Linked DNA regions of Homo sapiens: regions 1 and 2 are each linked to region 3. The links are contacts of gene promoters, found by promoter capture Hi-C in blood cells and fetal thymus (Javierre and others, 2016). All regions are on one chromosome and are shown on one strand. Each heading gives the region's core, a stretch centred on a gene start or on the middle of the fragment in contact. The rest is flanking DNA. Distances are from core to core; before and after follow the strand shown. Region 1 holds the start of RAD51AP1 (RAD51 associated protein 1). Region 2 holds the start of CCND2 (cyclin D2). Region 3 has its middle 2.3 kb from the start of TSPAN9.

Evidence for each region. Contacts are between HindIII fragments. The CHiCAGO score rates a contact against its expected background, and 5 or more counts as called.
Region 1: a contact is called between the fragment with the promoter of RAD51AP1 here and a fragment that was not itself captured in region 3, in 1 of 17 cell types (fetal thymus). The highest score is 5.1, in fetal thymus.
Region 2: the fragment with the promoter of CCND2 here is called in contact with a fragment that was not itself captured in region 3 in 1 of 17 cell types (fetal thymus); the score reaches 8.4 in fetal thymus.

What each region holds. Positions count from the first base shown.
Region 1 is chr12:4,537,354-4,540,384 of GRCh38, reverse strand. It overlaps RAD51AP1 (RAD51 associated protein 1), which reads right to left and starts at 1,495. Exons shown (of 9, transcript NM_006479.5): 1 at 1,429-1,495. The coding sequence starts at 1,445. FERRY3 (FERRY endosomal RAB5 effector complex subunit 3) reads left to right here and starts at 1,916. Exons shown (of 14, transcript NM_020374.4): 1 at 1,916-1,976. RefSeq lists enhancers at 1,063-1,671, 1,672-2,281 and a silencer at 1,887-1,936. The HindIII fragment of the contact is 5,379 bases long and covers 1-3,031 here.
Region 2 is chr12:4,272,100-4,275,277 of GRCh38, reverse strand. CCND2 (cyclin D2) reads right to left here and starts at 1,516. Exons shown (of 5, transcript NM_001759.4): 1 at 1,043-1,516. The coding sequence starts at 1,237. All of the region lies in intron 1 of CCND2-AS1 (CCND2 antisense RNA 1), which reads left to right. RefSeq lists silencers at 1,586-1,675, 2,206-2,325, 3,106-3,178. The HindIII fragment of the contact is 5,777 bases long and covers 1-3,178 here.
Region 3 is chr12:3,073,348-3,076,721 of GRCh38, reverse strand. No RefSeq gene overlaps it. Among named protein-coding and RNA genes, the nearest start is that of TSPAN9, 2.3 kb to the left of the region's middle. RefSeq lists a silencer at 3,054-3,203 and an enhancer at 2,985-3,279. The HindIII fragment of the contact is 2,312 bases long and covers 790-3,101 here.

The DNA.
Region 1 (3,031 bases), core at 246-2,745, 1.5 Mb before region 3:
CCTCATAGACCTCTAGAGAAGTTTCCAGGGACCCACAGAGGTCTGTAGACCATACTTTAACAACTGCTGTTCCTTACAAAGGGATTATGACTCCACTGCCTGGATGCTTAAAACCCATTTCAAATTCAGCATGTTCGAAACAGAAATCTTGATCCCTCACACCTCCTAACCTTCCTTTTCCTAGTCTTCCCTATCTTAATACAAAGATCATCCATCCTGTAGCTCAGACCAAAACTATTGTGGAGTCATCTCTGATTCTTTCTTTCCCTTACCTGTACATCTACTTCATCAGCAAGTTCTGTCCACAGTGCCTCCGAAATACATCCCAAATTCATCTGTTCCATTCCATGCCCACTAATAATACCCTATCCCAAACCGCTCTCCAATGATATAATACCTGATTTTCCTGCTCCCGTTCTGGTCACCCTATCCATCATTTATTCTCCACCAACAGCCAGTGACCTTTATAAAAGCAAACTTAGATTCCTCTCCCCTACTTAAAACCCTCCACTGACTTCCCATTGACTTAAAATAAAACCTAAACTCCTTTCTAAGACTTACAAGACCCTATCTGTTCTGGCACCTGCCTATTTCTCTGGCCTAATCCCCCTACGATTCTCCCCACTGCTTGTTAATCCTATAGCATTAGACTGTCCCTAAAATATGGTCAAGTATGGGGCCTTGGCTCCTATTCCCTCTACCCTGATTCATGACTCAGTGCATGCATTATCGCCTCAGAGTCACATATTAACTACTATATTTAAAGTAGTGCTTTCCTCTTTCGCACTCTCATATTTCGAGGCTTATTTTCGGCCCCCTAACCTCACCTCCCACTGGAATGTAACCTCCAGCACCTCGTACACTAAAGAAGTGAATATATTCAATAACTTTATTAAATGAATGGCTAACTATAGGCTTCCATGGCACTCAACTGTGTAAATAGAAGAATCGTTTCTAATACCACGATGGAAAGCACAGAGGATCTTGAGTGAGATGACTTAGGTTTGAGTATTGCCCTGCCACTTACTGGGCTGTATGACTCAGATAACTTACCCTCTATACGTAGAAATGTTAAATCAATACAACAGGAATGCTTACTCTTTCTATATCAAATAACTACAGTGATAAACAAATAAAATAACACATAATTGGGCGCTCGGTGAAATGTAAAGCGCTGTTCAAACGCTAACAAGGTCTTGGTAAAAGAAACGGCGACGGTTGTGAAGGGAGGCAAAGAGAAGGAAAAAGCTACGATGCTAGGATACTTCTGAGCAACGGGTGGCTCTCACTGGAGACTGGGTTCTTGATAACCGTCCATCCTAACCCCACCATCGCTGCCCTCCGGTCTTACTCGATCCTTTCCCCTTAGTCTCATGTCTTTTCCCTTAGTTTTCCTCCCACCCCCGACGAATGTCAGGAACTACCCACCTCACAGGCCGCACCATGGTCCCTTTCAAGGCTTGGTATTTACAGTTCTCAAATTCTTGTTGGCTTCAGCGGCGGTTTCAATTCCCGCCCAAAACCAGACTTCGGAGCCCTCCGCCCCCTGTTACCAGTCGTCCAATCATCACCAGCCATGCTTGCGGCGGCGCACGCGCTGTGGGGAAAGCGAATTTGCTCCCGCCCTCCCCAAGGCACCGCTTTTCCGTATCCGGTCCACCAGAGCCGAGTTTGTGCTTTGTCCCTGCACTTTCGTCACAACGGCGGATTTGCCCTGTCTCTGAAATACAGAATAACAATAGAAATACACCTTATTGCACCTTTCAAATTGTTAAATTGAAACAGGTTGGGACATAGGGGCACTTGGACTGAGAAATTTTCTACAAGATGCCAGGAAATAGAAAAGGATGTGGCGAATCTACGTTCGCGGATCCGCGGTGTGGAAAAAGTATGTCGGCAAGTCAGCTGGTTTCCCAGTGCAGGACGCGCTGACAGCTCGAGTGAGCGGACTGCCCAGGACTTCGGAACTAGACGAGGTGAGCCCAGAACCGAGTGAGGATGCCCTTTCAGACTGACAACCGTTACAGAGGGATTAGTCCCCTCACCCGGCTGAAGTTTCTCAGCTCGACCGTCTGTCTTCCTTTTCCCTGATTAATGTGAGCCTCAGAGCCTCCGCTCTGTTGGCTGTGTGTGTTCGGTCCAGACCTTCCATCCCATTTTCTTATGGGAAACCTTCCTGGATTTCACGGTTGCTAAAACTGAACCCAGGCTTCAGGATAGACCATTAGTCTAAAAAAAGAGCGAGAGGAGAAAGAACTAAAGTTATCAGTTTCTTGAAACACAAGTCTAAATGTTGAACCAGAGCTTTTGTGTCTGCCTTCTCTTTTTTTTTTCAACATTCCTGATTCATTCATATTTTTGCATTTATCAGTGGTTGATTCTTTTTTATTGCTGTGTAGTATTTATCTCATAAAATAAACAAGTTTACTATTCTCCTACTAATACGCATTTTGGTTGTTTCCAGTTTGGGGTATTATAAATAAAACTTATATGAGCATTCTTCTGGGTGTACTTTAGCGAACATATGCGTGTGTGTGTATTTGGATATATACTTAGGAATGAAATTTCTACATCATAGAATATACCTTTATGTAGTTTTGGTAGTTTTCTAACATTATAAAAATTTGTATTGCTTTACGTTTAATTTTAATTCTTTCTGAGTAAAACAAATACCCTATCTCTTTGCATTATGGTGAAATAGACGAAGATTTTTGTGTATAGCCTACATACAGATTTGAAAATATAGTCTGGATAATTCAACTTAGCCCCGCCCCACGACATGTACAAAAGTCCTTTGAGTTTTTTTTATATTTCAGGTGATATCTTTTTAAATAACCGTATGAATAATTTTTTGTTCTTTATTTTTCCAGTGAGCACCATAAAATAAAAACGCCATACAATCCAACAATTATTTATTAGTTCTTGCCATTCGCAACATCCTGCCTAATACATGGAATACAAGACAGTATTCCTTCCACTTCAAGAAGACTGTTTTCTAGCCAAGAGTAAGAAATAGAGCGTGATAAGTGCC
Region 2 (3,178 bases), core at 267-2,766, 1.2 Mb before region 3:
GGGGCTTTGGATCCCGGGAGGAAACTTGAAGGGGTGAGCGCCGCGGCGGGAGTGTCCGGCTGCGGCCCACAAGGACAGAAACTAGGGAACGCGGTGACGAGCGAGGGGAAAGACGGGAGCAGAGAGCCCTGGAAAGAGGCACGGGGGGCTCCCACCTCTCCTTCAGGGGTGACCCGGTATCCCCCCTACACACACCCCCTCCCCCCCTTCCTACCCCACCCAAATCTCCGCACCGAGGAAGCTGGAAAACCAAACTGTAAGTAATCTTCGTGAGGTGGGGGGTGGGGGAGAGGGCACGATTAGAAGTGGGGTGGCCGGGATAATGGGGTGCGAGGGTAAGCGGGCGACGTTTCCCAGCCTTTCCAAAGGGAGTTTGCAAAGCAACATGGCGAAACCACGGCAGGTCCAGAGCTGTGCATACGTGGGCACACGGCTCGCTGGGCAAAGACTTGGAGTGAGGGGCAAGAAGCGGTTCTTTTGGGTTCCCCTGAAACACGCGTTTCTTCAATGGGACTTCCGGGGCTCCCGAATTCCCCGTTTCTCTCCTTCTCCCTCCTCCCTCCACCTCCCCGGTGAAGTGCCAGCGCGGAGTCGCGACCACAGGCGGGGACCTGAGGCCAAGACGAATTTGCTCTGGCCTTTTGGGGGGGGTTGCCTTTCTACTCGGGGTCCCGATTTCAGGCCCCGACTCTCTTCCTGGCCGCAGCGCAAGCAGCCGCGGCGGCTTCGCAAAAGACAGGTCGCGAGGGGGGTGGGAAGAAGAGGCAGCCACATGCAGGAACACGCGCGCGGGATGCTCCCCTACCCCCGCCCAGGACAGCCTCGCTTCTCCCAGATTTTCCTCCCCCCTCTGCCTCCCCAGTTTATCTGGAGAGGAACAGAAATAAAGCCACGCGTCTCGCCAGAAGGCGCGCGGTAAACTCCCGCACAGGAGCCGGGAGGCCGGCGCGGGGATTGCCCTCTCCCAGGTTTAGGGCTCCGGCCGGGGACCCGAGCATCCGGAGGGGTCCTGGCTCCTGGCGAGCGCCACCCCCCGACCTACCTCCAGCATCCAGGTGGCCACCATTCTGCGCATGTAGGGTTGGATGTCCTTCTGCACGCACTTGAAGTAGGAGCACTGCGGAAGGTAGCGCTCCTCGATGGTGAGCAGGTTCTGCAGGACGCGGTCGTCTCGGAGCAGGTTGCGGTCCCGCACGGCCCTGCGGACCGGGTCCACCTCGTGGCACAGCAGCTCCATGGCCAGCCCGGCGGCCCCTCTCCCTCCTGCTTTCCCCGGCCTGGAAAAAGGTTTTTCTGTTTTTGTTTTTTGGAAGGGGAGGGGAGAGCGTTCCCCTGACCTCCTTCCTTTGGCTAAATAGGGGGTTTTCGGGGGAGAGGTGAGGGCAGAGAGAGAAGGTGGAGCAGAAGGGAGGCGAGGATTGGGTGGTGGGCGAGCAGAGCCTCGGGGCTGCCTCACTCGCACCGGTCCTCCCCTTAAAACTGGTCTCGCTCTCCCCTGCTCGCTCTTCTCCGCTCTGAAGCGGTGACGCAAGCTGGCTGGGCAGTTAGCTCTCCTCCCTCTCCCCGCGCTCCCCGCTCTGGTTCCTCCTCCCCTTTCCTCCCCTCCCGGTCCTCCCCTCCTCCTTTCAATCTCTCCCTCCCTCCCTCCTTTTCCCCTCTCGTTATTAAGGAGAACAGCAGCTGGCCCGACCCAACTTCAAACGCGGTCCCCCGCCACCCCCCACCCCTCTCCCTCCATCCAGCCCTGCATGCCAGGGGCCCCGGACAGGGCAACCCACAAAAAACTACCGACTCCTATTTCTGCCCTCTAATTTCACTCATTCTGTAGGTGTAGCACGCCAAAATACGACCCTCCAACTTTGGCTTCTTCAAAACGGATCCTAATCCTCCTGCCCTTGTATTTAAGATCCAGGAATGTAGGGTAGATTATCTGAAGATGGGGTGACCTCAGACAATTTAGAAATAGGTCCCTTAAGTGAAAAATAAGGGAGGGGGTGATTTTAGAAAATAGCAACCTCGCATACCCAGAGATAAAGGTCATGTCCCTGAAGTCTGTGTTCCTGATAACTTCGAAGCTGTTTCGAAAGCCCCGATTAAAGGGACCAGAACAACGTCCCTTCTGCCCCCCCCTGCAGAGTGTGTGCAGAGGAAGAAGAGGGAGGGAGAGGTGGGTATTAGGAAGGAAGGGGGGTGCTTCTCTGGAGGGATAGAATGTGATCCTCGAGCAGAAACCATCGTGTTTCTGGGGGCTCTTCGGGCGCCGTGGGGCGACGCGGTGCAGCGTCTAGGGCCGCCGCAGGCCGGGGGCAGGGCTCCCAGCGGTTCCCCCGCGGCCAGCGGCCACGCAGGAAAAACCCGCTTCCTCGCCCCTGCATCTGCTGACAAGCCGCCCGAGGTGTCTGCGCTGAGCGTGGCCACACCGATGCAGCTTTCTAGGAAATGGCCCGGGAGGGGGAGGGGGCGAGTGAGGGATTAGGTCCGGCTCCCCCTCGCTCCCCCTGCGCAAACACCACCACCCCTTCCTTTCCCCGGAGGCATGAGGCCTCCACGCTCGGTCCTTCGCCCGCATCCTCGCCGACCCCTCCGGTTTCGCGCCTCACTCGCCAGGCTTTCTCCCTGGGAGCCGACTGCGGTGAAGTCGCCGCCAGCACGGTCGGCCCTGACACGTGCTCTAACGCATGCTTGAGTCAAGGCTGTCTTTACAGGAGATACGATCTGGTGGCGTTTCTTCACCTCCTTCCTCCCGTCACCCCCCACCCCCACCGCGCCCTTTGGTGTATTTCACTCCAGGAGGAAGGGGAGAGACCAGCGCCCTGATGTGCTGGCCAAGCTGGCACGTGCAGCGGGCATGGCGTGGCTCGAGCTCTCTGGGCACACCGAGGCCGACTGAGTGCCTCCCTCACCGAGAGAGGGGGCCCGGGCAGGGGCGCGGAGAGCCAGCAAGGCGGGGTGGGGCGCGGGCTGGGTGAGCCGTACACTAGGTTCCCTGCAAGGCGGAGGAGGGGAGCGAATAAACTAGAGGTGCAAGCGATTAACTCAGGCCCCGGAGCCAGCCTCTTTAAACGAGGGTGGGGCGGAAGGGGTGGTGGGGGGGAAAGGAGGGGATATCGCTTTAAAAGGGTGAGGAAGAGTTTGGGGCGCCGTCTCCCCTCCCTCTATTTGCATAGCCAATAGCTCT
Region 3 (3,374 bases), core at 696-3,195:
ACTCCAGCTAGGCATGTCTGGCCCGGGCGCTTTTTCAGGCCTGGATTTTATGTGTTTTTTGCTTTTTGTTTTGTTTTGTTTTTTCTTGAGACAAGGACTCACTCTGTTGCCCAGGCAGGAGTGCAGTGGTGCGATCACGGCTCACTGCAGCCTCGACTTCCCGGGCTCAAGTGATCCCGCCTCAGCCTCCAGAGTAGTTGGGACTGTAGGCGCGCACCACCACGTCCGGCGAAGTTTTTGATTTTTTTTGTACAGACGGTGGTCTCCCTGGGCCCAAGCTGGTCTCAAACTCCCGGGCTCAAGCCATCCTCCTGCCTCTGCCTCCCAAAGTGCTGGGATTATAGGCCCGGATTCTTAAAGCTAGAAGGCCTAAACTTGTTTCCAAAGAGCACTAAAACGCCATCTCTTCTCATCATTACTGTCATCAAAAATGTCTTCTAGGCCAGGTGTGGTGGCTCACGCGTGTAATCCCAGGACTTTGGGGGGCCCAGGTGGAAGGATTGCTTGAGCTCAGGAACTCAGGAATTCAAGAACAGCCTGGGCAACATAGGGAAACCCCATCTCAAAAAAAAAATGTTTTAATTAACCGGGTGTGGTGGCACACCCCTGTAGTCCCAGCTGCTCCGGAGGCTGAGGCTCAGGCGTTGGAGGCTGCAGTAAACTAGGATCATGCCACTGTACTCCAGCCTGGGCAGTAGAGGGAGACCCTGTCTTTAAAAGTGAAATTTTTTTAAATTTTAAAGAAACTGTATGCTGTGCTTCCCACGTGCCCTACCATTGCACTAAGCTTGACTGGGGACAAGTTTTTAAAACCTGGCTATAATCACTAGGGTCACTTTTGCTTTCTGCTAATTAGACTGGAAGTTTCCACTCATCTTCTGGGCCCCTTTCCGTCACACACATGCAACCTTGTTTTTGTCTATTAGACTAAACCCATAACCCATTTCCTTCTGATCTCCCTTTCCCCACAAGGAAAATATTCTCCTTCTACATTTTGCTTCATCCAAAGCCCTGTTCAATGCCCCTATAACAAAGTCTTCCCAAGGAACCCCCACCAGCCCCAATCTCTCCAGTCACTGCGGCAGAGTTGGGTACATGTACCCAGAAAAGGAAACTGGGTCTCAGACAGGGAAAGAGATATACTAGGATTGTCTGCCAGCAAGCCAACTCACTGGCAGACCATTGGACGCAGCCTGGTGAGGGAGTAGCCGCAGGGCTTGGGAGCCAGACACACCTGTCTGAATCCTGGCTCTGCTTTTATCGGCTGGGACCTCTTCAGGCCTGTTTTCTCACCTGTGGAATGGGGCATAAGAATACCAATTATGGGGATGGGCATGGTGGCTCACACCTGTAATCCCAGTACTTAGGGAGGCCGAGGCGGGTGGATTACCTGAGATCAGGAGTTTGAGACCAGCCTGGCCAACATGGTGAAACCCCGTCTCCACTAAAAATACAAAAATTAGCCGGGTGTGGTGGCACATGCCTGTAATCCCAGCTACTCGGAGGGCTGAGGCAGGAGAATTGCTTGAGCCTGGGAGACGGAGGTTGCAGTGAGCCAAGATCGTGCCACTGCACTCCAGCCTGGTCGACAGAGCGAGACTGTCTCAAAAAAAAAAAAAAAAAAAAACCAATTCCACAGGGTTGATGGGCTGACCAAGATGATGGAGTAAAAGCACAACATGTGATGTGTGGTGACTGCTCTACAAATGCTAGCTTCCTCCTGCCCTTTTTGGTTTTTGTTTTGTTTTGTTGTTTTTGAGACAGGGACTTGTTCTGCCACCCAGGCTGGAGGGCAGTGGTGCCATCATGGCTCACTGCAGCCTCCAACTCCTGGACTCAAGGATCCTCCAACCTCAGACTCCTAAGTAGCTGGGACCACACGTGCATGCCACCATACCCAGCTAATTGGGGTTTTTGTTTGTTTTGTTTTTGTTTTTGTTTTCGTTTTCGTTTTGTTTTGTAGAGACAGAGGCCTCACTATGTTGCTCAAGCTAGTTTTGAACTCCTGGCCTCAAGCAATCCTCCCACCTTGGCCTCCCAAAGTCCTCCTGCCCTTTAAAAAAAGATAGGCGGAGCACAGTGGCTCACACCTGTCATCCCAGCACTTTGGGAGGCCAAGGCAGGTGGATCACTCAAGCCCAGGAGTTCGAGACCAGCCTGGCCAACATGGCAAAACCCCATCTCTACTAAAAATACAAAAATTAGCCAGGTGTGCATGGGCGTGGTGGCACATGCCTGTACGGGAGGCTGAGGTGAGAGGATTGCTTGAGCCCAGGAGGTCAAGGCTGCAGTGAACCATGATTATACCACTGCTCTCCAGCCTGGGTGACAGAGTGAGACTCTGTCTCAAATTAATTAATTAATTAGAGCAAATCTGAAATAATGGAATTCTGAAGTCTTAGAGATAGATGAAATCTTAGAAGAAATCCCTCAGCAATAGCCCAGAAAATGGCTTCACTGCTCACTCTCCTTCACCACATTCAGAGGTGAATGCCTCAGTGCCTCTGAGGGGCTGACAGTTGGAAGGAAGCTCTGAAGAAAAGCTGTAGAGGAGATGGGATTATTCAGCATAAAGGACACAAAGGTGACTAGTGGTCTGTGAAGCAGACACACTGATAGTGTCCACTGAGGACTAAACGCAAGTAAACCTGACAATGACGCACCACCCTCTTGGGGAAGGGACTTACAAACGCATGAAGTCACTGCTTATCATACCAGGCTTCTGAGGAAATGTCATTGCATTTCCCTTCTGGAGGAGATTCTGAAAAATGCTGAGGTTAGATATAGGTAGGGTGACTGTATCCAGGTTTCGGGGGCACATCCTACTTACTCCTCTTGTCCTGGCATAGTTCCTAAGTCCCCTTTCACTCTCGAAATATCCTGGCGTGGATGATAAATTATATGCCATTTTAACTGTGAACAAAGGCAGGACTCCAAACAGCTCCTTCCAGGCCTGGATGTCAGCAACTCTGCTGGAATTTCTGGATCCCCAGGGACTTCAAAGGATAGCATGTCAGTTTATCCCCTTGAAATCACCAAATCAAATCAAAAATGACAATAGGCTAAAATTAAAGTCCCAGCCAACCACCCCAAGTCAAGCTTCAGGACTGTGCCTGCTGAATTGCGACACCTAGTGGCGAAAGTGCACGCTGCCGGAGCGGGGTTCCGCCAACACTTCACATTCGGCCATAGGTTTCAAGTGACTTGCAAAGCAGCTAACAGCTAACATGTACTGTTTATGTGCCAGGCACAGTTCTAAGTACTTTACATGTTCTAACCCACTGATCCTCACAACAACACCATGAGGTAGGTAGTAGCATCACCATCCCGACATTTTTACAGATGAGGAAACTGAGGCTGAGACAGGTTAAGTA